Regions from separate parts of the Homo sapiens genome. Here region 1 is linked to region 2. Evidence: promoter capture Hi-C in 16 types of primary human blood cells and fetal thymus (Javierre and others, 2016). All regions are on one chromosome and are shown on one strand. Each heading gives the region's core, a stretch centred on a gene start or on the middle of the fragment in contact. The rest is flanking DNA. Distances are from core to core; before and after follow the strand shown. Region 1 has its middle 290 kb from the start of CACNA2D1. Region 2 holds the start of CACNA2D1-AS1 (CACNA2D1 antisense RNA 1).

The links. The method cuts DNA at HindIII sites, captures the fragments that hold promoters and counts their contacts. A CHiCAGO score of 5 or more calls a contact.
Region 1: a contact is called between a fragment that was not itself captured here and the fragment with the promoter of CACNA2D1-AS1 in region 2, in 1 of 17 cell types (M2 macrophages). The highest score is 5.4, in M2 macrophages.

The regions. Positions count from the first base shown.
Region 1 is chr7:82,730,602-82,733,412 of GRCh38, forward strand. No RefSeq gene overlaps it. Among named protein-coding and RNA genes, the nearest start is that of CACNA2D1, 290 kb to the left of the region's middle. The HindIII fragment of the contact is 2,912 bases long and covers 1-2,800 here.
Region 2 is chr7:82,007,852-82,010,551 of GRCh38, forward strand. It overlaps CACNA2D1-AS1 (CACNA2D1 antisense RNA 1), which reads left to right and starts at 1,326. Exons shown (of 4, transcript NR_110077.1): 1 at 1,326-1,411. All of the region lies in intron 15 of CACNA2D1 (calcium voltage-gated channel auxiliary subunit alpha2delta 1), which reads right to left. The HindIII fragment of the contact is 1,784 bases long and covers 1,055-2,700 here.

The sequences.
Region 1 (2,811 bases), core at 95-2,594, 720 kb after region 2:
AGACCAATAATGGCTTCCTTAGTAGCAAGTAGACTTCACCTTGCTAGCAATTAGGAGGAAATTACTCCTGAATCACATGGAGAAGGGGAACATTTCTTAATAGGTAATTCTTTAAACTTAGAGAACTATGATAGTGCTTAGACTAATATAATTTGTAACAATTTTCCTGTTTTTAAAAAATGTGTCTTTAAAAAATAGAATGTTGGGCTGGGTGCTGTGGCTCACACCGGTAATCCCAGCACTTTGGGAGGCCGAGCGGGGTGGATCACCTGAGGTCAGGAGCTCGAGACCAGCCTGGCCAACATGGTGAAACTTCGTCTCAACTTAAAATACAAAAATTAGCTGGGCATGGTGGCAGTCGCCTGTAATCCCAGCTACTCAGGAGGCTGAGGCAGGAGAATCGCTTGAACCTGGGAGACAGATGTTGCAGTGAGCCGAGATCACGCCATTGCACTCCAGCTTGGGCAACAAGAGCGAAACTCCATCTCAAAATAAATAAATAAATAAATAAATAAATAAAAGAATGTTGAAGGATTAAACAAAACAGGGACATTAAAGATCTTTGGCTATTGTGGGCCTGGCACGGTGGCTCACACCCGTAATCCCAGCACTTTGGGAGGCTGAGGCAGGTGGATCACCGGAGGTCAAGAGATCGAGGCCATCCTGGCCAATATGGTGAAACCCCATCTCTACTAAAAATACAAAAATTAGCTGAGCGTGGTGGCACGTGCCTGTAGTCCCAGCTACTCGGGAGACTGAGGCAGAAGAATCGCTTGGACCAGGGAGTCGGAGGTTGCAGTGAGCCAAGATCGTGCCACAGCACTCCAGCCTGGGCAACAGAGTGAGACTCCATTTAAAAAAAAGTCAACAATATTTAATAATTAATGATTATTACAAATTTTTATATTGTAATACAACAAGGCATCTGCACATATTGATCAATTGTACACTAGAGTTATGATCCTCAATGGGCTTATGGAATAATGATACAAAAACAAGCATTGGAATGACTATAATACATAATATAAACTGTTATGAGATTTTGGAGATGGGAGAGGTTACTTCTAAGAATGAAAAGTATCATAGCCAGTAATAGGAACTGTTCTCCATCAGTATTTTCAAGTTCCAAATTCATTATCCTTCTATGTAACCCATCTACTAAGTGCTACCAATAAATCATTCCCCAAATCTGCCTTCTCAGCTTGTAAACCTAATTGACTATTAAAACACCAACAGAAAAAAAATCAGAAAACAAATGTGAAATGATGCCACCAAAAGTTCATAGTTTTTATGAATGGAAATGAATGAATAAAATAGTAAATTTTATTGAATGAATGAATGAATGAATAAAAAAGTAAATTTCATAGATTTTATGAACTTTTGGTGACATCATTGGGACCCAGAATCACTAGTCAATTTTTATTTGGCTTCGCTCAATTCTTTCCTTCATTCTTTTGGGCATTGTTTTATTTTATTTTATTTTTTTGTAGAGACAGGATCTAGCTATGTCGATCAGGCTGGTCTCGAAGTCCTGGCCCCAAGTAATCCTTCCACCTTGGCCTCCCAATGTGCTGGGATTATGAGTGTGAGTCATCGTTTTGGGCAATTGCTTTGAAAGAACAACACTCTGTTCATATCCCTGTTCCTGTCTCCTACAGAAATCTCCATTACTCTCCACTTCTCTCAGCTCTTTTATTTCCTTGGGAAACTTGTAGTCAGCAAATGTGTAGTTCTACAACTTTTTATACCACCCCTCACCTACAGATATATATGCATCATATCTTCTGCCATCTACAGTAAAGGGCTTATATATTTAGTTATTTTAGAGACGGGGTCTCACTCTGTTGCCACACTGGAGTGCAATGGTGCAATCATATTATGCTAACTTCAGATTTGCGCCTCAGCCTCCCAATTAGCTGGGACTACAGGCATGTGCCACCATGCCTGGCTAATTTTTAAATAAAATTTGTAGAGTTGGGTCTCACTATGTTGCCCAGACTGGTTTTGAACTCCTGGCCTCAAGTGATTCTCCTTGAGGAAACAGTAAAGAGGACTTTGTCTTGCAACTTGGATACCAGTTCAGCCAAAGTAAAATAAAGCACCAAGCAGGCCCCCATTCCAGGACGTTGCTCCTGGATGTAATTTCTAGACTTACCCTGGGTCAGGAGAGAACCCACTGCCCTGAAGGAAAGAACCCAGTCCTGTCAGGATCCATCATATGCTGATTAAAGAGCCCCTGGGCCTTGAATAAACATCAACAGCAGCCAGGCAGCAGTTGTCGTGGGCCTTCGGCAAGATCTAGTGTCATACTGGTTTCAGGTGTGACCAGCACATTCCCAGCTACAGTGGCCTTGGCCATAGGCCTCCTTTCCTTTCTACTTTAGGAAAGGAGAGAGGAGTAAAAAGGATTTGACTTTCAGTAAAATTTGACTAAGCCAGTAATATTTGAATGAAGTCTATGCTACTTCATTTTTTATGTCTTATACTTTGAGATACACACCTGGTACTGTAATAGATGTTGAAGATACGTGTTGAGCAAGAGCCCTGATCCTGCCCTCACAGGGTTTACAGGCTGATTGGGTGAGAGACATTAATAATTATATTACTATAGAATGATCAACTGTAATAAATACTATGTAGGAAAAATATTGAATGGTAGGAAAAACTAAAAGGTCAGATTCAGTCTAAAGAATCAAAGAAAACTTGTGTTATTAGTTTGATTAGGGACTAACTTTCTAGTTATAGGGATAAAATCGGAGATAGTCATCTTGTTCTTCCACTGCAAAACATAAACACACTAAGCTTGAGGAG
Region 2 (2,700 bases), core at 76-2,575:
GTTACTTTATAAAGAGCCACAAAAACTAGTAACTCATTTTGAATATCTATTAAAATTTATTTTTAAAATATCAAGGAAAATATCTTGGAAATAATTAGGACCTACTAGGCACCTACTGAAGCATGCAACATTTAAAATAATCCTCTAAGATAACTTCAAAAATAATCAGCTTACACAAATAGTCAACAGCCTGTATGCATTTCAGTAACCCTGTGTCCTCCCCCTTTTTCATAGTGATAGTTCACCTAATATCAGGGCCTCCATAAGCAGAGTGATAATAAAATATTATTTTAAGTGATTATTTAGCTTCCCTTTTTGTAGCCTTATTCTTTATTTTTTATGCCCTAAGCCAAAGACTTCATGCTAAATGAAAAATGTGCAGTTGAATAACATGATAAATAAAAGAAACATTCTATTGATACTGCATATCTGGGATATTCTAAGTAAATGTTACGCTCTTCAGAAGCAGTACTACTTTTCTAAGTAGACCCCAAAATAAGCAGTACTTTTTGACAAGTAAAATTATGAAGAAAAGACAACTGCAAGCATCAAATATAAAAGTCTAGTCTGAAGAGTTTAACATAGTAGAACTAATGCCATCCTATTAATCAGCACATAATTTAATACATTAAATGAATCCATACAGATTAGTCAAAATAAACTGATTTTCAAGTCAGAGTTTGCTTTTGTTACTGACATCTATATCCATTATAATTTTAACCATTTCATGTCAAAACTACATTTAACAAAATCACTCTTTAAAATAATTTTTATTGTTTGAAATTTTGAATTTGCTAAATGAGAAATTATTATTAATCTTCTCACGAATAGTGATTCCAAATCCAAATCTCAAGAACTCAGAACAGAGTTCTGGAATCAGAACCGAGTTCATAAAGTTGGATTTGGAATAATTATTCACTAGAACATTAAAAATATTTATTAATATCAGGGAGCAAATGTTGTGGTATCAGGTTGTGGTTCATAATTGTGCACATAGGAGGCCCAAATTCAATGGGAATATGAATGAATTAGGGAGGAGAGACAATAATAGAGAAGCTTCCAGAAGACCAAAATACCAAATTATTTGCAGCAAATAAAACTAAGGAAACAACCATACATATTTGGGTGCATGATGATTGATATGGTTTGGCTGTGTTCCCACACAAATCTCATCTTCAGTTGTAGTTCCCATAATCCCCACGTGTTGTGGGAGAGATCCAGAGGTAATTGAACCATGGTACGGTTTCCCCCATGTTATTCTCGTGATAGTGAGTAATTTCTCACGAGGTCTGATGGTTTTTAAGTGGCTTTCCCCTTCGCTCAACACTTATTCTCTCTCCTGCTGCCTGGCGAAGAGATGCTTTCCGCCATGATTTTAAGTTTCCTGAGGCCTCCCCAGCCACATGGAACTGTGAGTCAATTAAACCTTTTTTCTTTATAAAGTACTCAGTCTTGGGGATTTCTTCACAGCAGTGTGAGAACAGACTCATACAGTGATAGACACATGTTGGCGCTTATAAAGTCCTAACCAAGAACATTAGACAATGAAACATCCTTAATTATATAAATTAATGCTTCCAATGAAAACCTCCCACCTCAATAAAGTCAGGCTATAGATTAATTCGTAAAACTGGTATCCAAAAGATAATTTAGTAAGGATTTGGTGAAGTGTCTGTTAGAGCTATAATCTATATGCATGGTTTTAAAAATGCTACCATGGTTTAAGACAAGGTAGATATGGATGTAATCATTTCCTTTGCATTACTTTTGCATTTATACTGCATACCATAATTTGCTTCTAAAAATGGTAAAATGTAGCCTAAAGTGAGTTACTAGATTACTAACATATTAAAGATAATTATGAATGAACTCATTTGGGCCCAACTTGAATTTTTTTCTCATTTACTAAGCAGACCAAAAACTTGTACTCTACTCCTGAGTACTGCACATGTCTCTAGAAAATAAGAGAGAAATAAAACAAGATTTCTCTACCCTGGAATTTTAAAAATATTTTCTAGAGCCCAACTCTTGTCATATCTCTTTTTATAAAGAGCTTCACTTTGTCTCCTAATTAAAATGAACTCTCCACAATATTGTCCTAATCTCCCCTTATTACCAAAAATGACCAAGGTATCATTTTTTTGATATACTCAGTGCTTCCCCAACTTTTATGCTATACCCCATTTTTATGGTTTCACTTTTCACCACCAATTGCAAAAATCTTACACTAATATCAGCTAAAATGTCTCCATTTTCTTAACCACAACCCACTTTGCCCCCAATATTGGCTTCATTTTGAAGTCAGAATTCTTTTTCTCATTATATCCATTATATTTCGTTTTGAAATATATTTACCTTTTCCTTTTTAATATAACTGTTTATTTTTGACCAACATATATTTTTAATCTGCTGTGTGGAGAGATTATAAACAAATAACTAGGAATATATGAGGATCACTTTATCATCTTCAAAACAGTAAAAATAACGCTATATGTGTCCAATGAATAGCAAATTCACGTGTTCCTTTTTTTTTTTTTTTTACATTCAGTTTCAGCTTATAGCACAGCACATTTAGAACCAACATTTCCTCCTAATGTCATTTGTGCTATCAGTAAGAACCTTACCAGCAATGCAGACATGCTGGCTAATGAACTTCCAGTCAAAGGAAACACAACAGGGCATAATTATTGACTCCTCCTA